4 separate regions of the Homo sapiens genome follow, and regions 2, 3 and 4 are each linked to region 1. The links are contacts of gene promoters, found by promoter capture Hi-C in human tissues and cell types (Jung and others, 2019). All regions are on one chromosome and are shown on one strand. The core of a region is centred on a gene start or on the middle of the fragment in contact, and the rest is flanking DNA. Distances in the headings are between cores, read along the strand shown. Region 1 holds the start of OTOF (otoferlin). Region 2 overlaps CIB4 (calcium and integrin binding family member 4). Region 3 overlaps CIB4 (calcium and integrin binding family member 4). Region 4 overlaps OTOF (otoferlin).

Region 1 (5,766 bases), core at 864-3,363:
CCCCCAGGTGGCCCAGGAGCAGATAAAGAGCTTGCAAGATTGAGTACTCAGGATGAGGTCCTGAGAGCTGGGACCACCGTGCCTCAGCTCCTCCGTGAATGCCACGCGCAGTGTTCTACCCCTGAACCTTGGTTTCTCGGCCTGCAAGTGGGCCTGTCCGGTGCAGCCTGGACCGTTCCAGCACAGCTGCAGCAGGATGGCAACCTGTAGCTTAACCGCCCCACACTATGCTGCCCGTGGAGCTCAGGGCCACATTTCACAGATGAAAGGACACATTTGCTTTTTCTAAAGCCAGCATGAGCCTGCAGGTGGCACACAGAGGGAGATCCAGGGTGCTGCAGAGAAAGCAGTCAGTGGGTTGGGGTGGGAGGCAAAAGGCAGCCCAGCCCACACCTCCCTCTCCCTCCTGCCTAACCTCCGCCTGCCGGCAGGGCCACTGCCATCACCTCCACCCCTGCCTGTCCCTATGAACACAAGCTGCAATGTGGGCATCCCAGGGCCTCTGGGTAGGTGATGTGGGTGCCCCAGGGCTCTTGCTGGAATGTTCTGCCAATGGTCTCTCCCATCCCTTCCAACAGAGGTGCAGACACTGTGTCCAGCCTGGGCCCCAAGGCTCACTTTGCTCTTTAGTATAGGGGGGTCCTCTCTGCCCCCTTCTCACCACCTCGTCCCCATCCCACTCTCAGACCCCTCTCTCGGGAGAAGGGGCCATGTCTAGTGAGAAGTACCCCCAACCCTCAGGGCTGGGCAGCAACCACATGGAGAGGCAGAGGTGGGTGGTGAAGGACAGAGTCAGCCTGGCCCTGCCTTTCCCCACTTAAAATGCTCAGGGGCTCCGCTGTCCCCGGGGTCAGGTCCAGCCTCGCCTCCTTGCCCTGCTTGGCTCTCTGGCCTCCGCTCCTGCACCCTCTCTGAGCTGTAGACACATGGAACCTCTTTCAGTTCCAGAGTTTCAGCTCCTCTCTCAGCTCTGGGCACACTGTTTCCTCTGCCTCCTCAGTCCTTACCTCCTCTCCTAGCTCCCACCCGCTGGTCCTTCGGGTATTAGCTGAGTGTTACTTCCTCCGGGAAGCCTTCCCTGACCACCGGTCACCAGCCTGGGTGAGGGTGCTGCTTCTGTAGCTTGCATGCTGCACCCCCACCTTCTGTCTCACATACCTGTCCTGCTTGTTCCACGCCTGCCCAACAGATGCAGGCTCCTTGGGGCTGGGGCTGGGTTGTGCTCAGCTCTGTGTTTCTACCCCTATCCTTGGGACACAGTAGATCATAATAAATGGTCGCTGAATACAGGAGTGAAAAGGATGAGAAAAGACCAGACAGAAGAGAGGCGAGGGGCTCCCGGGGTTCCCGCCCATGAATAGATCTAAAAGAAGCCAACAGTGTCCCCCATCACTCTGGGGCCCAGGGAGCTACTGGCTGCCTGGTTTCTCCCAGTCACCCTGGGTGCCCCAGGCTCCATACCCGGCCCCCACCCTGTGCTCAAGGAAATCAACCTGCAGGAGAGGGAGAGAGAGAGAAGGAGGGGGTCCTGGGTCTCCCTGAGCTCAGGGATGTGGTCCTCACTTCTGCCTCCCCAGGCAGAGGGCTCTGTGCCCTGCCCGGGGAACTGGCATGTTGGCAAGCACAAGGAGACACAGGCATGGAAGAACAGGGGACCCTGATTTTCCAGAAATCACAATGGCCAGTCAGTCCCAGGCAGATGACTACCTGTGAAAAGGCTCGTCGCCCCAGCCCCTGCTAGAACTTTTCCCACCCATCCTCCCAGCCCTGTCCTATCCCCGGCCACCTCCAGAGCATGGGCTGGTCCAGCTCTCAGAGCTGGCGTCCCTCTGAGACAGCGGCTTCCCTACCTCGGAAAGTCACTTTGGCGATCCGGTCGCCCCTGCCCCGCAGCTCCGAGACTGTCTTGAGGTGGATGAGCAAGGCCATGCTGGTGTGGGCTGCCTGGCACTGCCAGGCAGGAGCAGCGGGAAGGAGCTAGCCGGTGGAGCACGGCTCACACGCCTCTCTCTTCTCTGCCGCTGCCTCCTCCTCCTCCTCCCGACCCCCCTCCGATGCTGCCCACAGAGACCAAGGCAACCAAGCCGAGCTAAGCTGCTCCTGCAGCGACTCACAGAGCCTCACAGCCCCCGCCCCTCCAAGTTGTCAGCCCAGCGTGTGTGTATCGGTGTGTGCGTGTGTGTGTGTGTGTGTGTGCACCCAATGTGCAGCCTGGGAGTGCGGCAGAGTTGGAATTCATTATTCAGCAGCCGCCGGCTCCCAGATAAAGCTCTGTCCAGCTTCAGGTGTCTTCTCCCAGCTCCTGGAAGGGAGGCTCTGCCCACCCCTCTGCAGGGCTCTGCTGCTTCCCTGCTAAGCAAGCCCTGCCACCAGTAGTGGGCACAGAGGAGTGGGCATGAGCATAGGTAGGGTGGATGTGGGGCGGGGGGCACTCCCACCCACAGGGGCACACTACAAGAAGAAGGGAATGTATTTGTCCACCTACGCCCACCTCTTCCCTGCTGGAGACTGTGCCCCCAAGAGGCTGGGCCCTGAGCCCTGCCCTGGGATCCCTGTTTCTGAATCTCAGGAAGCAGAGAGGCTGGGGCTGCTGCCTGAGGGGAGGCTCAGGACCAGGCCATGCATGATGGAGATGGCTGGTTGTGGAGGCAGCAGAGGCTTATGTGCTACCAGGGGCCATGTTTAAGGATCCAGGGCACTAACCTAGCCCCACCCCAAGGCTGGGGGTCAGGCAGGCTAGCGAAGGTAAGCCAGGCTGATGTTTGCTTTCCAGCCAGAGGAGCAGAATTGAATGGCCTTCTGCTGTTATAAGCTGCTAGGGGCAGGAGAAGGGATGTCTATAGGGAAATTTCTAAGGACCAAAAGAGAACTGCCCCCTCCTGTCTTCCAGCAGCATACACCAAGGAAAGGGACGCTGGGGGCCAGAATCCCTGATGCTGGAATCTGTGCAGGGTCATCTGCAGCCTTGTTCTTGCTATTCATTCTTGGTGGAATGCCCTCCACCCCACCCTGGACTCAGCTTGAGTGCCTGCTCCTGGAGGTGCCTCTGTACCCGCACCCCAGCTGGGTTGGGGTCCTCCTCTGTGCTGCTCCTGCCTCCTCTCATCTTACTGAGTCCTGGGGCTGCTTCCCTTGCCTTTTCCCCTCCTGACCTCAGGAGGGCCCTGGAGCACAGCATCCCTCTACCCCAGAGCCCCACATGGTATCCTGTGCACCGTAGGATGCCCAATTACTGTTGAAAGGATAAAAGAGTGAGCTCAGGGATCTACCTGAAACAGAGTCTAAAGGTTAAAAAGAGAAATACTAATTTTTCACAGCATGGTAACAAGAGGTTACTTCTTTTGAATTCTGCATTCCAAATAACCTACAGTATGTCCCAAGAGCCTTCTTTCCTCCTTCTAGATATTTCCTTGCTACTGTGCCCTATTTTTCTTTTTCTACTTACGTTTTTTTCCTTTGCACTTTTTCCTAACCAATTCTTGCTTACCTTTCTCACATTTATCTAATCATATTGAATTTAAAAATGTCTTAGAGTATTCTGTTTATTGAATACAAGTATGAATGCTAAATTTTCAAAAGCTAGATAAGTTTAATGTCTTAAAAAAAAAAACACCTAAATTCACTAGCATTTTCCATCCATGAGGTCATCAGGTGATCTGTGTTTTTAAGGCTTGGTGACTACAAGGTACAACAACAACAACAGAAAATATCTTCTTCCTTGGTTCTCTGGAGGTCCTCCCCTGAAAGGAGTGAATTTCATGAGGCCTCTTATAGACCCTGTGCATCTTTAGGAAAAAGCCCATGATCCTGCCCTAGCCAAGGCATTGATCTATGCTGAATCTCACTTTCCACATCCATAAAATGGTAGCAATTCCACTCAGCAGCTCTCAATGGAGTCAGCTGGCCTTTCTGAAAACCTAAGAGACAGATCCCACTCTTTTTTTTTTTTTTTTTTTGAGAGAGAGTCTCACTCTGTCACCCAGGCTGGAGGGCAGTGGAGTGATCTAGGCTCACTGCAACCTCTGCCTCCCGGGTTCAAGCGATTCTCCTGCCTCAGCCTCCCAAATAGGTCAGACTATAAGCATGTGCTACCATGCCCAGCTAATGTTTGTATTTTTAGTAGAGATGGGGTTTCACCATGTTGGCTAGGCTGGTCTCAAACTGCTGACCTCAAGTGATCCGCCTGCCTCGGCCTTCCAAAATGCTGGGATTACAGGCATGAGCCACCGTTCCCAGCCAGAACCCACTTTTTAATTTCCATTCTTCTGTTACCCATTTTGGTAACTGAGTATATAATTTATGTAATGAACATTTACTGAATTCTTTCCAGAGCCAGGTGCTGAGATTCAGGGATGAATATGATATGGATGGCACAGGATCCCAATCAGACGAGACAGATGGACTAGAACACAGGCAGGTGGAAGGCAGGGTGGTGGGTTTACCAGCAGGACTGGCTGGGCAGCCCTGAATGGGGGAGGAAGTAGGCGGTCAACCTCACCAGGGCTGGGGGTCTTTGACTCATGTTTTCCTTATTGTAGAACATGTTCCCCAATGAGAATTTAGAAAAATACAGACATGACTGCATTCTGAAGGATGGATGGATTTTCCTTCCACCCAGTTTGTTTGCAGCCGTTCCTTTGCCTACAGCTCTCTTTCCAACCAGGCCTCAGTGTTTCTGCTTCCTGAGCCTCTGGGAAGCCTGTGGCTCCCCTTCATTTCATTGGCATTTGCCAGGGGAAGTCTTTGGAGAATGCTGGTGGCAGCCACATTCTGTGAACCCAGTAGCGTCTGCGGTCTTCATCCACTGCCATTTACAGAACCGAAGTGCGAGGGGAGCACTGCTCTCCATCCGGCATCTGAAGGGAAGAAGCAAGACCTGGAGACAAAGTGGGAACTGCCAGGCTTCTTCATGACACCAGGACTGCTGCAGAGGGAGCTGGGGTGGCAGGGCCTCCACCCGAGTCACCAAGAGCCTGGCACCGTGGAAGCTGTCCCCATACCCTCACCCCTTATGGAAAAGCCGAAGGCCCTGTGCCTGCCCTAGGCACCAAGGCTGGTGTAAGGGTCCCTGGAGAAACTCAAATGTGGAGGCTGAAGCAGTCACAGGGAGGATTACACAGGGGGTGGGCCTTCAGCAGGCCTGCTCTCTGGGGCAAGCGCTACCCCTGCGGATGCCATCCCCAAAATGAACGGCAGCATTGGGGACAAATGTAAATCACACACCCAGACGTTCTATGATTTTCTTTTTGCCTCTTGTGGAGTAGTTTACAGGTATGATGAGGTGAGAAGGAAGCCATCAGCTAGAGATTAAGAAGAAAAATGAAAAATGCTCCTCTTCGCAAGGCGCGCACACACACACGCACACATGCACGCACGCACGCACACACACAATTACACACAGCGTCCTAGGCAACCTCGCCCAGCGCGGCCCACTACAGAGCCCCTTCCTGGAACTCCCATGGAGCTGGGGTGCAGGGGAAGCCTTGGAGAGACATAGCTCCTGGGGACCCTAAGGCCACTCAGGTTTCTGGGCCTGAGCCACGGTGGGGCAGCTGCTTCGTGCGTGACCTCCAAAGTCAGGACCTGGCCTGTCCTTTGTGGTAGCGTCGCGTTCCAAGCCGGGTCACCGCAAGACGGATCCCGCCAGGCCTCTCCAGCGATGTTCTGCCTCCCTCCCGCATCTGAGCCTCTGCACATCCCGCAGGCAGCAAGGCAGAGAGCCCCGACGCGCCGGGGCAAGTGACAGGGGTCACCCAGCAGAGCTCG
Region 2 (5,766 bases), core at 1,137-3,636, 63 kb after region 1:
CTCCTGACACCTGCCAAAATGAAAGTAAAGGGGTTTCTTAGAGGCATGACCCACAAAAACATAGAGACCTGACAGGGAAACAACAGCAGATTCACAGTGACATACACAGGAAACAGACAAGCAAGTGGGAAGTAACCCAGCAGATTTGAGGAAGCAGGACCCAAAGCCCACAGCGGGGAAGGTGACACCACCCCGATCTCCATCCCGGAATCCCCTACAGACTCTGCGACTGAGGAAGCAGGAACCAAAGCCCACAGCGGGGAAGGCAACACAATCCTGATCTACATCCCAGAATCCCCTACAGACTCTGTGACTGAGGAAGCAGGACCCTAAGCCCACAGCAGGGAAGGTGACACCACCCCGATCTCCATCCCGGAATCCCCTACAGACTCCGCAACTGAGGAAGCAGGACCTGAAGCCCACAGCGGGGAAGGCAACACCATCCTGATCTCCATCCCGGAATCCCCTACAGACTCTGCGACTGAGGAAGCAGGACCCGAAGCCCACAGCGGGGAAGGCAACACCATCCTGATCTACATCCCAGAATCCCCTACAGACTCTGTGACTGAGGAAGCAGGACCCTAAGCCCACAGTGGGGAAGGTGACACCACCCCAATCTCCATCCCAGAATCCCCTACAGACTCCGCGACTGAGGAAGCAGGACCCGAATCCCACAGCGGGGAAGGTGACACCACCCTGATCTCCATCCCGGAATCCCCTACAGACTCTGCGACTGGAAGTCCCTGGTAGCGCTGGAAATAGAGGCTGGCTGAAAGGAAGGTCAATTGCAAGTGTTTAAAGCAGTTGGAGTTCTAGACACCCCCACCCCCGCCAACCTACAGGCTGCTCAGCACCACGGGGTGACTGCCCATCCCCAGCCCCTGCAAAAGACGGGAGTTTGTTCTCTGGGGAGAGTATAGCAGAGGCTTTCTCCACGGGGGACGTCAGACATGGTTGAGAACTGGGGAGTGAATAAACATACAGGTGCTGAACTCTGAGACCTCACCAGCCCTCTTTCCTAACATGGCTCTAGGATGCTAGCAGGCAGAATTTTACTCTCCATTTTTCTAGAGAATCCTCAAAATGACCCCTCAGATCGCCCTTCAGTGAAGCTCCCAGTTGATAAATCCCACCTAGGGACTTCAGCTTTAAAACAGCTTTTTAGCAACCACCCTTCAGTCATCATCATGAGCCCTTGATGACCAGATATCTGAGGAAGGCTTCTGACGCGCAAGCCAAGGACCCAAACAAACAAGTGAGAAAAGCACCTTAAAGGAAAAAGGAGAGGACGCTACAAAAACGAGAAAGATCAGAGAACAAAAATGAGCTCTTGGAAACTAAACGCATGATGGCAGAAGTGAAAAACCCTATTAGAGTTGAAGATAAAGTGGAGGAAATCTTCCAGAAAGAAGAGCAAAAAGGCAAAGATGAAAAGTAGGAGAGAAAAGACAGAGAATAAAGGACCAATCTAGGATGTACAGCATCAGAATATTAAAGTTCCAGAAAGAAAGGACAAAGAAAACAGAAGGGAGAAAGTTATCAATGAAATAATTAAAGGAAAGGCCCCAGAGCTGAAGGACATGAGTTTCCAGACTGAGTGGGTCCTCCGCGTGCCTCACACACAGGGGAAAGGACTCGTGCCAACAATTATTGTTGGGAATATCAGAGTAGTAAAATAAAAGAGAAGAGTCTACAAGTTTCCAGGAAAAAAAAAAAAAAAAAAACAGGGAATGAAAAAAGATCAGGAAACAGAAAGGCTTTGGACCTCTCAATAACAACGGTGAAAGCTAAAATGCAATTAAGTGATGCTTTCCAAATTCTAAAGAAAAATGATATCCAACCTACAATTCCATCTAAACTCTCAGTCAAAGGCCAGTTTCAGTGGCATGCACATGTTATCCCAGCACTTTGGGAGGCTGAGGCAGGAGAATTACTTAAGCCCAGGAGATCAAGACCAGCCTAGGCAACATAGTGGGACCCTATCTCTACAAAAAATAAATAAATAGGTAAATTATCAGTCAAGTATGAGAGGAGAAAAAGACATTTTCAGATATGTAAGTTGTAAAAACATTTATCTCCATGCAGCCTTTATCAGAAAGCTACCAGAGGATGTGCTCCACCAAAAGAAGGGGAGTAAATGGAGAGACATGAAAACAGAAAATGCAAGACCCAAGAGAGTGGTGAGAAGAATCTGAGATGGTCATGAAAGGAGATCCCAAGGTGGTAACATATACCAGGCTCAGAGGGCAACCCAGTCCTGGTTAGAGAATGTTAGAAGGCTCCAAGAGAAATTTTGCTAGGAAAAGGAAATGTACAGGAAACTTCTCACTTCTAAATGCCTTTGGAGAAGACTTAGAAGATTGGCAGAGGTTTGGTGTCATTTCAATGAAAAGTACATAGACAACTAAGCAAAAACAATGATGACATCCAGGAAAAATAAACAAAACTACACAGAAAGGGAAAGTAACTACAGCTTATTTCATGACTCAGCTCTGAACAGTGTATGCAGTCATAATAATACAAAACATTGAGGCCAGGCATGGTGGCTCACGCCTGTAATCCCAGCATTTTGGGAGGCCGAGGCGGGTGGATCGCCTGAGGTCAGGAGTTCGAGACCAGCCTGGCCTACATGGTGAAACCCTGTCTCTGCTAAAAATGCAAAAATTAGCTGGGCATGGTGGCGGGCACCTGTAATCCCAGCTACTTGGGAGGCTGAGGTAGGAGAATTGCTTGAACCCAAGAGACAGAGGTTGCAGTGAGCCGAGATCGCATCACTGTACTCCAGCCTGGGCGACAAAGCAAGACTCCATCTCAAAAAATAATAATAATAAATAATAATAATACAAAACATTGACTATTGATCTCCCCCAAACTATCATGTAACTATATTGGGAGGGCAGGGGAACAAGGAGTGAGGAATAGGATGGGTGTTGGGGAGGGGAAGAGCTTTAGCTCTTCTTAGGGGAAGTCAAAGGCTGAACTATCAAGAAGGGGTAATACAAGGTGCTCTTTAAAGACATGGAGGCAAATAAGGAAAGAATCAGCCAAGAGCTGAAAATAGTTGCCTTTGAGAAGAGGAAATGTGGCAACCCTCATAGGGCAACTTAACTCCTGGCACACATGAATAATTTTGATTTAAAAACTTAAAAAAAAGGCCAGGTGAGGTGGCTCACACCTGTAATCCCAGCATTTTGGGAGGCCGAGGTGGGCAGATCACTTGAGGTCAGGAGTTCAAGACCAACCTGGCCAACATGGAGAAACCCTATCTCTACTAAAAATACAAAAATTAGCCAGGCATGGCGGCACGCGCCTGTAATCCCAGCTACTCAGAAGGCTGGGGCAGAAGAATTGCTTGAACCTGGGAGGCAGAGGTTGCAGTGAGCTGAGATGGTGCTTCTGCACTCCAACATGGGCAACAGAGTGAGACTCCATCTCAAAAAAAATAAATAAGAATAAATAAATAAATAAATGATAAAAACTAAAAAAAATTTTTTTTAATTAGAATAAAAATTAAGGCTAGGTATGGTGGTTCATGCCTCTAATCCCAGCACTTTGGGAGGCTGAGGCAGGAGAATTGCTTAAACCCAGGCATTCAAGACCAACCAGACAACATGACAAGACTCCATCTCTATGAAAAACACAAAAATTAGCTGGGTGTGGTGGTACATGCCTGTGGTTCCAGCTACTCGGGAGGCTGAGGCAGGAGGATCGCTTTAGCCCCAGAGATTGAGGCTGCAGGGAGCCGTGTTCACACCACTGCACGCTAACCTGGGCAACAGAGTGAGACCCTGTCTCAAAATAAATAAATAAATAATAAAATAAATATTAAATTTTTAAAAATACACTACCATTCCCACCCCACCTACTTTTAGGATTTCTTGAAAGGCTGAGTAAATTTCAGGACTTTTCATCGCTTTCAGCCTTGGGAGTGAGTTCTTTGCAAGCTGTTCTAAGCAGATAGGAACTAGTTCTAAGCAGGACTCAGAAAGGCTCGGAAAACTTTGGGAGATACATAGAAACCGAGATGGAGCTGAAACCTTAGGGGCCATCCTGACCATACCTCCCTACACCTTGGGCAGGTTTCCAAACCTCTCTGCTCTGTAACAGATGGAATAAAATGTAGCAGGGGCGGGTCTATGCGAAGACCATCTGCCAGCAGGAAGCCCGGAGCAGGAGGAGGGAAGAGGCCAGGGGGGTGAGGTGGCCCCGCCAGTGTGCAGGCCTCCACCCTACCTGCTCCAAGGCCCTGCGATCTTCCTTTAGGCCCTGTTTCCAGCCATCCCCAGTGGATGCAACTACAGCTCTGGGCTCGGAAACTAGAAACCCAAGTCACACCATGCCACACTCATCTGTGTTTACAGAAAGCAAGATAATTATTTACAAGAACAGAAACATTGAGCTAATACACTTTTAAATACACCAAATCCATCAGACAAAAAGAAAACAGAAACTGCTGAGTGGAAAGGGGGCACTGTGTCCTGTCCCCGTGCGGGACATTTTGGTCAGCAGGCTTTTCCTGCTACCCAGGATGTTCTCTCGCCTTGTTCTCCACTGATAGGCAGACCCTTCCCAATATTCCCAAGCCCGCTTTTTCCACGAGTGAACCCAAGTTAAGAAAACAAAGCTTTCTTCCCAGACCACTCAAGCCCCTGAGCCAAGTTATATCAGTACCCAGAGCTCCCTGGGGCCCAGTTCTCAAAGCCTATTCCAGAGACGTGTTCTGGGCAGTGTGAGTCACGCAGCTCCCGTCCTTGCGGCCACAGAGGATGCAGGCACAGCCGGGCCCCCACCTCCCAGCAAGCCTCTCCTTGCTCATTTTGGGAAGCAAGGCTTCTGCTTTGTCCAGAATCGGAAAGACACAGAAGGAATCTTTAGTCCTCGCTCTAGGTCTCCAAAAGCTGGTCTGAGCACTAGGGATGAGCCAGTGACAAAGTTCTTGACAACAGGTGACAAACGGAGAACAATACGGACAAAAGGGGGTGTGTCTGAAAACACTCGAGGCTTCTTACATTTTTGTTTTAAAATTAATATTTCTTTAAAATAAAATGATGGTCACTGACAGTGGATGACATATTTTTTTTAATGTCCTTACTTGGCAAAACTGAAAGTTGGCATCTCTAGTCCTGCCTCAAAAAAAGATTTTGTTTTTGAATAAAAAGTCTGGGACCAGGCTGGGAAGTTTAGTGGGAGGGTGGGGGGCGGGGCAGGCAGGGATGGTTAATGGGTACACACAAAAAAAATAGAAAAAATGAATAAGACCTACTATTGGATAGCACAACAAGGTATTATGGTGTATATATATATATATTTTTTTTATATAGGCATTATAGTCAATAATAATTGTATATTTGGAAATAACTTAGAGGGTAATTGGATTATTTGTAACTCAAAGGATAAATGCTTGAGGGGATGGATGCCCCATTCTCCACGATGTGCTTATTTCGCATTGCATCACAACATCTCATGTACCCCATAAATATATACACCTACTATGTACCCACAAATTTTTTTGTAAGTCTGGGACATACTGTGGTAGATGGCACACCACAAAAGAGAGTAAGACCAAGTCCTAGGGCCAGAACCACAGACTCAGAGAGTGAGGAGGGCACCAGATCATCGGTCCAATCTCTTTTTGAGACCGAAGGATGCTAGAACACCCGTCAGTGACAGAAAGCGCATTCCCTCTGTGCATAGCGCTGGCAGTTAGGGAGTGTTTACTTGTATTGTGGAGAAACCTGCATGTGCTTGTACCTGGACCTATGTCTG
Region 3 (5,766 bases), core at 1,922-4,421, 33 kb after region 1:
CCTGCCTGGGGATAATTCCTAACTGGTGGAGGCTGTGCTGATGGGAGCAGGAAGACATTGCTGGGATGGTGGTCTCTCACCAGTGGAAACTGTCTCCAGAGGTACAGAGAGAGGAGAGTGAGCAGTTGGAGACCAGAGTGTCTCTCAGAGCAGGACATGGAGGCCAGTAGGTAAGCTCCAGGGAGGTGTGGCTGTCCCTGCTGGCTGCTGCCGCTGCTGCCGCTTCTTCTTTCTTCTTCTTCTTCTTCTTCTTCTTCTTCTTCTTCTTCTTCTTCTTCTTCTTCTTCTTCTTCTTCTTCTTCTTCTTCTTCCTCTTCCTCTTCCTCTTCTTCTTCTTCTTCTTCTTCTTCTTCTTCTTCCTCTTCTTCTTCTTCTTCTTCTTCTTCTTCTTCTCCTTCCCCTTCCCCTTCCCCTTCTCCTTCTCCTTCTTCCTCTTCCTCTTCCTCCCCTTCCCCTTCCTCTTCTTCTTCCTCCTCCTCCCCCTCTTCTTCTACTTCTCCTTCCTCCTATTCTCCTTCCTCCTCCTCCTTCTTTCCTCCTCCTCCTCCTCTCCTTCTCCTTCTCCTCCTTCTCCTTCTTCTTCTATTTTTGAGACAGAGTCTCACTCTTCTTCCCCAGGCTGGAGTGCAGTAGCACAATCTCAGCTCACTGCAACCTCTGCCTGACAAGTTCAAGTGATTCTCTTGCCTCAGCCTCCTGAGTAGCTGGGACTACAGGTGCCTGCCACCATGCCTAGCTAGTTTTTGTATTTTTAGTAGAGACGGGGTTTCACCATGTTGGCCAGGCTGGTCTCAAACTCCTGACCTCAGGTGATCCACCCACCTCAGCCTCTCAAAGTGCTGGGATTACAGGTGTGAGCCACTGCACCCAGCCCCTGCTGGATTCTTGACCAAAAGCCATTCTCCTGTCTTTCTTACTAACATAACTGCAGTTTCTTTTCAGGATGACACCATGTCCAGCTTAAAATGTGTAGCTGGATGTTTTAAGTCTCCTTTGCAGCTATGGGTAGCCAGGTGACATAGTTCTAGCCAATGAAATATAAACCAAAAATGCCGGGTGGGGCTTCCAAGAAAGCTTGTGAAAGGAGAGTGGACTTAGCTGCACTTTGGACGTACTTTTGTCCTGATCCCTTCTCCTATCACCTTTTCTTCCTGAAATGAAGATGAGATGTCTTTGGGCACAGAAGCCATGTTGTGACTATGAGGATAATGGTCCCCGACTGTTGGCAGAACAGGAAGCTTGAAGGAGCCTGGGCCCTCAGTAACCTCCTGAAGCCATTGCCCCAACTCTGGACTGCCTGACTCCAGACTTTGTTTTTTCTTTTTTGTAATACCATGGCCACTGCTCCACATCACTGAATGCAACCCTAGCTCCTGCAGCAGTTTAGAGCAACAGTTCTCACAGTCTGCTGCTCATTCGAGCCATCCAGGGAGCTTCCAAAAAGCCCAGGGACCAGGACATACCCAATACCATTCCATCAGGTCCCTGGAGCTGGGGCCCAAGCATCTGTAAAAAAAAAAAAAAAAAAAAAAAAAACTCACAGGTGATTCAATGTACAGCCAAGTGTGAGAAGCAGTGGGTTAGATCAATGCTTCTTAGACGTTAAAGCACAGAGGAATCTTGCTAAAATGCAGATTCAGATCCAGTGGGTGGAGTAGGGCCTGGGGCTCTGCATTTCTGATAAGCTTCCTGGCAGTGCTGATACTGCTGCTCTGTGGGCCACACCGGGGGTAGCAAGGGGCCGGAGCACTGAGTTCCGTCTTTGGACGGAATCATCACCATGACAGTTACCATGCCCGCCTTCTCCTTTCCCTTTCTGTCTCCTTTCCCCTCTTTTTTGATCCTTCTTCATCCTTCACTGTGGACCACTCCCCCCTCGACTTACTACGCAGGCTCAGGATCCACGTGTCCCATCTCTAATCTTGCTGACAGCTCTGTAAAGAAACCTTCCGAGCCCAGAGAGAATTCAGGGTTGTCTGAGTCTATCTGATGAAGCCTGGGCATTTATGAGCCCCTGAGCATCTATTTGCACAGCTGATTTGCATGAAGGCTTTGAACTTTTTGTGTTTGTGCTGAGGCTGGAGGAAGGAACCTCTGTGCTGCAAGGGGCCTGGAGAGAGAGTGGGGAGAAAGATACAAAGACATTGTGGGGGATATTGTGGTGTCTAGTCCTTGATCTACCCTGAGGCTCTCAGTCTGACCTCTGGGGACAGTGGGTGTTCTCCCCATGTCGCAGCTGAACACGATTTAGCTTGTGCCTTGAAGCCCAAGGAGAACCTTCTGCTCACCTCGCTCCTGAAGGGTTTGAGTGTTTTTGTTTGTTTAGCTCAGGAAACCATGGAAAGTCAGCGGAGGCAGACGTCTTTTGTGGCCTCTGCCCAGCCTACGCTCTACCGTCTCTGAGAAGTGTCCCCACCCCAGTGGCAGGCCTCTGGAGCCATGCTTGTTTCACAACTCTGCTTCTTTTTGGCTGCAGGTGATTGGGCAAGGCTGGTCACCTATCCCAGGGGAAGCTAGATCACTGGCTGGGTGAGAAAACAGAAGGGAGAAACAGAGATGCTTGTGGCTACTCAGAGTGAAGCCTACAGGCCATGTGGGGGCCGGGGAGTCATCTTTGGCCTGTGGGCACAGAGGCATAGCAGATCTGCAGAAGGAGAAGGAAAGCCCACAGAGAGAGGCAGAGATGAGAGACGAGGCAGCCATGGAGAGGAGACTGCAGCTGCCTGGCTTCCTGACTCTCATCCAGCTGTGCCCTAGGGCCCCAGGAGTCCTGCCTCACTTCCACCATGGGCTCCATAGTGCTCTTGGCAGACGAACTCTAGTGACCTCTCTCCTAAGAGCCACACATCTTGGTGCTCAGGCTTTCGTATAATCCCCAACCCCCTTGAGTGTGGGTGGGAACTGTGACTTGCTTGTAACCAATGGAACTTGGCAAAAGTGATGGGCTGTCACCTCCACCATCACGCTGTCTTTTATGACTCCATCTTGCCAGTGGGGTGACTCAAGAGTCTCTCCCCCTGGCTGTCTTTAAAGAAGCAAGTGGCCAGGTTGAGAGGCCCATGTGTCCAGGAGCTGAGGGCAGCCTCCGGCTGAGAGCCGGCAAGAAGTCAAGGCCCTAAGTCCTGCAGACACAAGGAAGTAAATTCTGCCAACAACGTGGGCAAGCTCATGAGCAGATTCCCCCAGTCAAGCGCCCTCCAGGTGAGAAGGCACCCCGGCCAGAACCTTGATGGCAGCTTGCAAAACCCTAAGAGGAGGACCCAACTAAGTGATGCCTGGACTCCTAACCCACAGAAACTGTGAGGTTACTAATGTATGTAATCTAAAGCCTCTAAGCTTGTGGTAATTTCTTACACAATGGAAAACTCATCTAGTGCTGGTTCTTATCAGTGGCATTTACATAGGTAAGTTTCTGTGGTTTGCAACCGAAAGACTCTTGGCTAAGACAGAAACAGCAAGCCTGGGCTGGCATCTTCCCAGAGGAGCGACCCCAGCCAGAGAGCACTGATGGGGGCTTGAGCCAGCACGGCTGCCACCTGTGGGAGGCCTGGCCGAGAGGAGCAGCGGCTAGAGGGCTCCAACTCCCTGGATGCATTGGGATCCCCATGGAAACTCCCAGAAATACTTGTGGTAAGGAAGGGGGAACGCTGGTGTGGACAGGTGGGGCCCATGAAGCCAACAGAATTTGGGTATGTGATTTAATTTCTACATACCCTGCTTGGAGTTCACTGTAAATCTGTGTCTTACATCAAATGTAGGACATTTGGGGCCATTATGTCTTCAAATATCTTTTCTGCACCGGTCACTCTCTCCTCTCCTTGTCAGACTCCACCTAGATACATGTTAGAGCTTTCTATTGTCCTGCACGTCTCTGAGGCTCTGTTCCCCTTTCCCTTGAATAATTTTTCTCTCTGTTCTTCAGATTAAGTTATTTCTATTGTTCTGTCTTCAAGTTTCCTGACTCTTCTGTTATCTCAATTCTCTCGTTAAGCTCATCCAGTGCATTTTTGTTTCAGATATTTTATTTTTCAGTTCTATATTTTCCATTTGATTCTTTCTTATAGTTTCTACTTCTTTGCTGAGATTTCCTATCTTTTCATTTGTTATGAGCAGTTTTTACATCCTTGGGCATGATTATTGTGATGATTAATGGTACGTGTCAATTTGACTGAGCTAAGGTTGCCCGGATAGCTGGCAACAGATTCTTTCTGGGTGTCTCTGTCAGGGTGTTTCCGGAAGAGACTGGCATTTGAATCAATAGGCTGAGTAAAGATGATCTGTCCTCACCAATTAGACATTGTTCCATCCATGGAGGGTCCAACGAACAAAAAGGTGGGGGAAGGATGAATTTGTACTCTCTGAGCTGAGACATCCGTCTTCTCCCATCCACAGACATTGATGCTCCTGGTTCTTGGACTTTCAGAATGAATTATGCTACCGCCTTTCCTAGCTTTCCAGCTTGCAGACAGCAGATGATGGGACTCCTCAGCCTCCATAATCACATGAGCCAGTTCCTAGAATAAATCTCTCTCTCTTTCTAGATATATATGTAGAGATATGTGTGTGTGTGTGTGTATATGTGTGTGTGTGTATATATACATATATACATATACATATATACACACGCACACATATACACACACACATATATACACACACATATATACACACACATATATATACACACTATATATACCCACACATACACTCACATACATATACACATATAAATAGCCTATTGGTTCTGTTTCTCTGCAGAATCCTGACTAATACAGTTATAATAGCTAATTTTAAATCTTTATTAGCTAATTCCAACATCTAGGTCATGTCAGTCAGTCTCCATTCTTGAGAATTCATCAATGAAAACAAATTTTTGTACATTGTGTACAATTTTGAATAGCTTCTTGGATATTATAAATGTTTTGTTGTAGACACTCTGTATTTCTCCAAAGATTGCTGAATTTTTGGTTTTAGCAGGCAATTGATTTCGACTCAAAGTGCAAACCCTGTCACTCATGGATCTGGTTAAAATGTGGTGGCAGCTCAAATCTCAGTTTAGTTCTTTTATCCTTAGCTGAGCTGCTTTGAGTTTGCCCTCGTGTATGTGGTGTAGAGGTCAGAAAGAGATATGGGCGTAGTTTACACACAACATTTGGACTCCCTTTCTCTTTCATAGGCTCTCCCTCACTTTGTAGGGGCTGTGTGTGCCCCAAACTCTCTGGCTTTTCAAGTCAGAAAGAATCCAGTGTTTCCATCAGCCTGCCTGAGTCCAGTGTTTCCACTCACTGAAGCCTACCTTCAGGATAAAAAAGTTAAAAATAAAAAAAGTGGGTGAAGGAAAACCCATCCACTACCGTTTCCTTCTTCCAGGCATCAGATCTCTCTAGAACACATCTCGCTTTTGGTAGCTTTCCAATGCCATCAGCTAGTTGATTTTTATATGTAGAGTTTTATAGTTGCTATCTGCAGGAGTGACCTATGATAGGAGTTTACTCAGCCATTCTCAGGAGGGGACTCTGTGATTTCATGTGTGCTTACCAAATGCTGAACCTGAGGACATATGAGATAAAAAATATTAAGTCCTTTTTACAGATGAAAAAACTGAGGCCTCATAGGTCCCTCTGGCTTAAAGCTCTTCTACTGTCTTCTATCCACATCCCACTTGGGTGAGGCAGAAATGAGATGGAGTCCACCATGTGGAGACTGGGGAGGAGCTGGCAGGAAAGGAAGGAACGTGAGATGCGAATGAGCAAGTCTAAATGTGCA
Region 4 (5,766 bases), core at 240-2,739, 38 kb before region 1:
GGATGTCTACAGACTGCGGGGAAAGGTGCATGAAATCCAGCTTTAGCTGAGCCCTTGCAGAGAAGCTTCCAGATGCTCAGTGTGGAGGCTGGGAAAGGACCTGAGTTTCCTGGATGGACAAGTAGCTCCTCCGGCTTCTACCCGCCTAACCATGACCAAGGTTTCCAGCCCACACCAACAGCACTCACTCATCCATTCCACATCTGCAGCCTGTAAGTTCCTGGATGGCAGGAACCTGTGTGATGGCAGAGCCCATGGAACTGCACAGCAGGGGAGAGGCGGTGCAATGCTTTGGTTAACAGCACAGTCCTGGCATCAAAGAGACAGGGATCTGAACCCAGCTCTGACACTGACTAGCAAGCTACCTGCTTCCTGGGCAACTTCCTTAAGCTCTCTCAGTGTCGGTTTTCTCATAAGATGAGCTGATAAGCCCTACTTCACAGAGTTGTTGTTGGAGGACTGAATGAGATCATCTGCGAGTGTTCTTGTCAAAGCCCCCAGCACACAGCCAGCACTCCAAAGCAGTCCGTTTTGTCGTGATTCATGTACTGCCTCTAAACTGTGAACCTCTCAAGGGCATGGGTGGTGCTTTTTATTCTAGCCTCTGTTTGACATTTCTAGCACACTAGAGATCTCAATATCTGCTGGCTGAATTAATGAACAACAGTGGGTGCCCAATAAATGCTGATGGAGTTGACTTCAACCCCATTGCACCCCACAGTCAGAAGGCTGTTTGTTGCTCTGGGAGAGAACAGGGAACTCAGACAGACGTTCTTACATGGTGCTTCCACATAGAGTGGATTAGAATACACACACCATTTCTAGCTGAAGGCACAAAGGGGAGGGAAGCATCCAGGGCGTGTGAGAGCTGGAAGGGACCTTGGGCATCATCTGATGCTGCCTGAGATTTATAGAGGAAGACAGTGAGGCCATGGAAGGGGAAGGGACACAGCTAATTAATGGTAGATCTGGGTGAGGTGAGGTATCAGATGAATTCTGACTCAGACATGCTTCATGTCTCTACCACCCTGAGGTCTGTGGAGGGTGAACATTGATTTTTTAAAAATCTTCCCATCTGTGTGAGGGGAGGAAGTGGTAGGGGCAGCCATGAGGAATGGATATGAAATGCTCCCCTTTGGAGCTCAGAGCCCCAACCACCATTGTGCCCCACCTCCCTGAGGATGAAACTGACCACGCCACTCCTTCACTCTAAAGCCGAACTGGGCTTCTGGGCCCTTAGAGCAGCCCATGGAAGCCTTCTTCCATAGCTGCATGCACCTCTCCCAGCTCAGGCAGTGCCCCAGAGACAGAAGTGCTGGGCTGGGGGCCAGGAGCCCTGGAGCTGCTGCCCCTGAGTCTCAATTTGGTCTTTATAAAATGAAGAGGGAAGGGGACTTTTAGCTTCCGTACCATGTAGACATTCTAACAGTAGACCACGGGCACGAAAAAATACACTCATCTTTTTGCAGCCTCACCCCTTTTTGTTCTAAATCAGTGGTTCTCAAACTTCAGCATGAGCAGAATCACCTGGAGGGCTTGTGAAAACATGCACGGCTGGGATATCCTCTTCTGTGGATATGCTGGAAAATGTGTCACTGGTGGGAGAGGAGAGGTGCTCATCTGTAGCATTTGCTGGTTTCTGAGATATAAATACTCCCGCCATGGCCAACTTCAAGCTTCTAATGTGAAGTCACCAAACTGGGTCCACCGGACTTCAGTTCACACCACTGGCCCCGACCCCAGGGCTCTGATTCAGTGGGTGGGAGAGGGCCTGAGAATGTGTATTTCTGACAAGTTTCCAGGTGATGCTGAAGCTGCTGGCTGGGGAGACACTTTGAGAATCCCTGCTCTACTATTACCCTTTGTGGATGGCTATTCAGCTGCCTTGATTCCCCTAGGACCTGTCGAGCACCTGTTGAGCGTGGGGCGATCAGGCACATCTTTCTCCAGAATTAGATGCCTAAGAACAGCCAAGGCAGCTCCCCAGGATCCGCAGAGGTGCTGCAATGTGACAAGACACTCCCAGGGGGCAGGGTGGAGCTATTCCCCCTGCAAGTGCTCACAGAGGCGTCTGGTGCCTTCTAGGCTTAACCTGCCTGAATCTCAGATCTTATACTTGGGAAGAACCTGAGAGACCTTGTCCAGCGCCCCTTCCAGGAGGAATCCCTGAAACAACCTCCCTGACATGTGCTTTTAAGTCCCTGCTAGATACTCCGGTGGTGGTGACAGTGATGGGGCTGTCACTGGTAGTCCATTCAGCCACTGCCTTAATCACACAGTGTGCTGAGCAAGATTGGCCTCCAGGCAAATCCCCTACTCTTCCTACCCTGGTCCAAGCCCTGTCCACATGCAGATTAATTCCATCCCTAAAGGGAAGCGGTGTAGACAGTGAGGAGCCTGGGCTCTGGAGTCAGACAGATGTGGGCTCACTCAGCAGGACCCAAGGGAGATTCCACCTCCTGGCAGCAGTGTGGTTTTGGCTCCTTCTGCTATAGCCCTCCGACTTCCACCGGACAGTGGTGAGGAGACTGCTCATGTGAAATTCCTCTACCAACACCGGCACTCGGATGCCAGCCCCTCCTCCCTCCCTAATAATGAGCAGGGCTGGCCATCTGGAGAGCCTACACAGGGCGAGTCTCCTTTGCAGGATGGGCTTCAGGGGCAGGTCCAGGCAGTCCCCCACCCTTCAAGCTGTGCACAGCCTCGCACAGCCAGAGCTTGTCTATGGCCTGGAGGGTGGGACTGGGACGCTAGGAGCTTGCAAGATTAAAGGAATCAATTTGCCACACCTCCAAGAGTGGCTTGGGGGGTTTTAACTCCTAACAGTTCACCCCCCAACCTCTCTCAAATAAAAGTAAAAATTATATTTTTTGACATGGACAATTGATATTATCTCAGCCTTATGTAAAGTATAAAGAAAAGCAGTTTTATAAACCTTGACTCTTTCTACAGGTCTGTAACATACCATTTAAGCAAAAACACAGTGCTTGCCATGAAAACAGTTTCAAAACAAAGGCCCTGGCACTGCTTCTAGGATGCCATCCCTCAGCCCGTCTTCTATAGATATTCTTTGGGAAGAAGCTGGGACAGGAAGAGGTAGGAGAAGCCCCTGGCTCTGGCCCTTGTGGTGACCCCAGAGGCGACCCTGCCCGCCGCAGCTGGCCTTTGTGCATCCTGGCTGCACACATAGTAGGTTCTTACTCCTCTGCATGGGTCAGCATGGAGGAGCTGCCTGGGAGAGTGGGGCCCAGGACGATTGAGGAAGGGTGGGCTCATATGCTCCTTAGACAGCTGAGTCATTTCCCTAGAAATGGAGTTGTGAGGCCATGTGTTCTGTGGGAAGGAGCACTGGCCCGGGTGTCAGGAGGCCTGGGGTGAAGACCTGACTGTCCTGAACCTGCTGTGTGACCCTGGACAAGAGGCCTCTCTGGGCCTCAGTTTCCCTGGGGCTGTCAGGCAAAGGATCTGGGGCTAACTCCATGTCCTCTGACTACTTGCCTTACAGGGCCATCCAGGTCACCATGGCAAAGAGGACACCCCTCACAGGAGGCTGTCTGGCCCCACGAGGGGCTGGGCGGCTGGGCAGAGCTAAGATCCCCACGTAATTAGCCGGCAGGAAAAGGCCTCCAGCCCAGATGGGCCCACAGACTGATCACAATAGAGCGGCAACTGGGCACCAGAATCCTGTCAATAATTCATCACTTTCCCCTGGGAGCCCGTGTCAGGTGTCCTGGGCCCTGCGAGGCCTCTCCTGCTGTCCTGGCTCCTGAATTATTCAGGGTCCCTGGCATCCTTAGCAGGCAGGAGGCTGGAGGCCAGGCCATGGACCCTCAGAGGTCCCGGACAGGCAGAGCTGGATGCACAAAATCTTCTGAACCGAACATTTCTTTCTCATGGGGAAGCCCAAGGTTCCTGGACACAGGTCTTTGTTCCAAACGGGGCCAAGCAGACCTGGAGGTCTCCTGGTTTCTGCCTAGGATGCCTCCTTCCTTCATACCATGTCTCTGCCTCCTGGCAGCCTCTAGAACCACTGGGTGAGGGGCCAGTTTCCAAGCTACTCTCTGCTTCTAGGACAAGTCTCTCTCTCTGAGATGGCAGTGATGGGATCAGGCTCATTTCTCGTCCTGGGACCCACTCTCCCAGGCAGCTCCTCCATGCCTCTTTTAGCTCAATTTCCCCAAATGCATCGGTCATGTGATGCTGAGTGTCACCCTTGAGTGCCCTGAGTCCTTCAGAGAAGAGGGGCCACTCCGATTCCCTCTCAAAGGCTCTCCCACCTTGTATACCTACCCTCTGCCTCCTAACACCACAGGGGCATTTATTCATTCTTTTATTCCACAAAATAATCAGGAGCCTGCCATGTGCCAGGCACTGTCCCCAGCAGTGGCCATGGCTTTGCTCATTGCTAAGCCTAGTGCAGACCCCAAAGACCCCTTCCACTCAGCTGCCCCATGAGAAGGAGCCTGGGGTCTGAACTGGGCCATGTGGGGGTTGAGGGCAGTGGCCTCATTGCTCCTCTGGCCTGGCCCAGGCAAATGCCAGGATGGGGAGACTTGAGTCTCACATCATTCCAAACACCTCTCTCCCACTCTGACCCCCACAAGCTGGCCTGTGTCAGCCTGGGCCTGTGCTCTCCACAAGGGGACCTCTTCTTTCCCATCTCAGCTCTGCAGCCAGCAGTGCCCTGGGCATTCTCTAGGCTTCCAAAGAAATGCCAGAACCTCTCCCACCAGGCCTGGGCCTCCCCTTGTGGGGTTTCCTGCCTTCTCTTGGATGGGGGCAGGGAGGGAAGAAGAGGAGAGTTAGGATAGGAACTATTCCCCTTTCTGTCTTCCTTCTTATTGGCACTTAAGAACATCTAATACAGGCTGGATTTGGTGGCTGGCACCTGTAATCCCAGCACTTTGGGAAGCTGAGGCAGGTCTATTACCTGAAGCCAGGAGTTCGAGACCATCCTGGCCAACATGGGGAAAACCCTGTCTCTACTAAAAATACAAAAATTATCCAGGCCTGGTGGCATGCACCTGTAGTCCCAGCTACTCGGGAGGCCAAGACATGAGAATCACTTGAACTCAGGAGGCAGAGGTTGCAATGAGCCGAGACTAGGCCACTGCACTCCAGCCTGGGTGACAGAGTGAGATTCTGTCTCTGAACAAAACAAAAACCAAAAACACCTAATAGAAGCTGTAACTTTCAACATATTCACTGCATGGGAGTCAATTTCCCGATTTCCCAAATACTTCTGATTTGTTTGTAGCAGTCTTTTGATGGGCTCAAGTGTTTCCAGCATTTCAGTGGTTAGGCTGGTGGCTTTCATTATAAATGATTTAACAATGTCTTCCATGCCCTCAGTTTCCACCATCACTGCTCAAATATTTTGGTTTCTGGGAGTTGGATTAGGAAGAGAAGTTAACAGACATGCATTCTAGCCCTGGCTCTACCATTGTCTACCCATGTGACCTCAGGTTCCCCTCTGAGACTTGGTTTCCCCTCCTGCACAGCTAGGGCTGTAGTGGCTGAGCTGTAAAGCTCCTGGATGCTTTGGCACCTATGGTTGGGTTCCTTCAGGGGCTCTCAGGTGCCCTCCCTGGTGCTTGACTTCCGATTCTCCTTCCTTTTTCACACCCACTTGGTCTGTGTGTGAGCCTTCCACTTGTTCCTGTTTCTCCTGTCCTCATAGGTCACACCCTCATGGTATCTCACCCCAGGGAAGAAGGCTCTGCTTCACCTTGGGGGCCCCTGGTGGGGGGTGTCTCACCAACCTTG

What was found. Contacts are between HindIII fragments. The study calls those that stand out against the background at their distance.
Region 2: a contact is called between a fragment that was not itself captured here and the fragment with the promoter of OTOF in region 1, in 2 of the 25 tissues and cell types used here (bladder and pancreas).
Region 3: a contact is called between a fragment that was not itself captured here and the fragment with the promoter of OTOF in region 1, in 2 of the 25 tissues and cell types used here (bladder and pancreas).
Region 4: a fragment that was not itself captured here is called in contact with the fragment with the promoter of OTOF in region 1 in 1 of the 25 tissues and cell types used here (neural progenitor cells).

Annotation. Positions count from the first base shown.
Region 1 is chr2:26,556,643-26,562,408 of GRCh38, forward strand. OTOF (otoferlin) reads right to left here and starts at 2,114. Exons shown (of 47, transcript NM_194248.3): 1 at 1,851-2,114. The coding sequence starts at 1,929. RefSeq lists enhancers at 1,475-2,268, 2,269-3,061, 5,719-5,766. The HindIII fragment of the contact is 11,571 bases long and covers 1-5,766 here.
Region 2 is chr2:26,619,548-26,625,313 of GRCh38, forward strand. All of the region lies in intron 3 of CIB4 (calcium and integrin binding family member 4), which reads right to left. Among named protein-coding and RNA genes, the nearest start is that of CIB4, 19 kb to the right of the region's middle. The HindIII fragment of the contact is 7,786 bases long and covers 1-5,766 here.
Region 3 is chr2:26,588,749-26,594,514 of GRCh38, forward strand. All of the region lies in intron 4 of CIB4 (calcium and integrin binding family member 4), which reads right to left. Among named protein-coding and RNA genes, the nearest start is that of CIMIP2C, 29 kb to the left of the region's middle. RefSeq lists enhancers at 2,099-2,843, 2,844-3,587. The HindIII fragment of the contact is 4,031 bases long and covers 1,157-5,187 here.
Region 4 is chr2:26,519,360-26,525,125 of GRCh38, forward strand. All of the region lies in intron 3 of OTOF (otoferlin), which reads right to left. Among named protein-coding and RNA genes, the nearest start is that of OTOF, 37 kb to the right of the region's middle. RefSeq lists a silencer at 1,936-2,101. The HindIII fragment of the contact is 6,873 bases long and covers 1-4,926 here.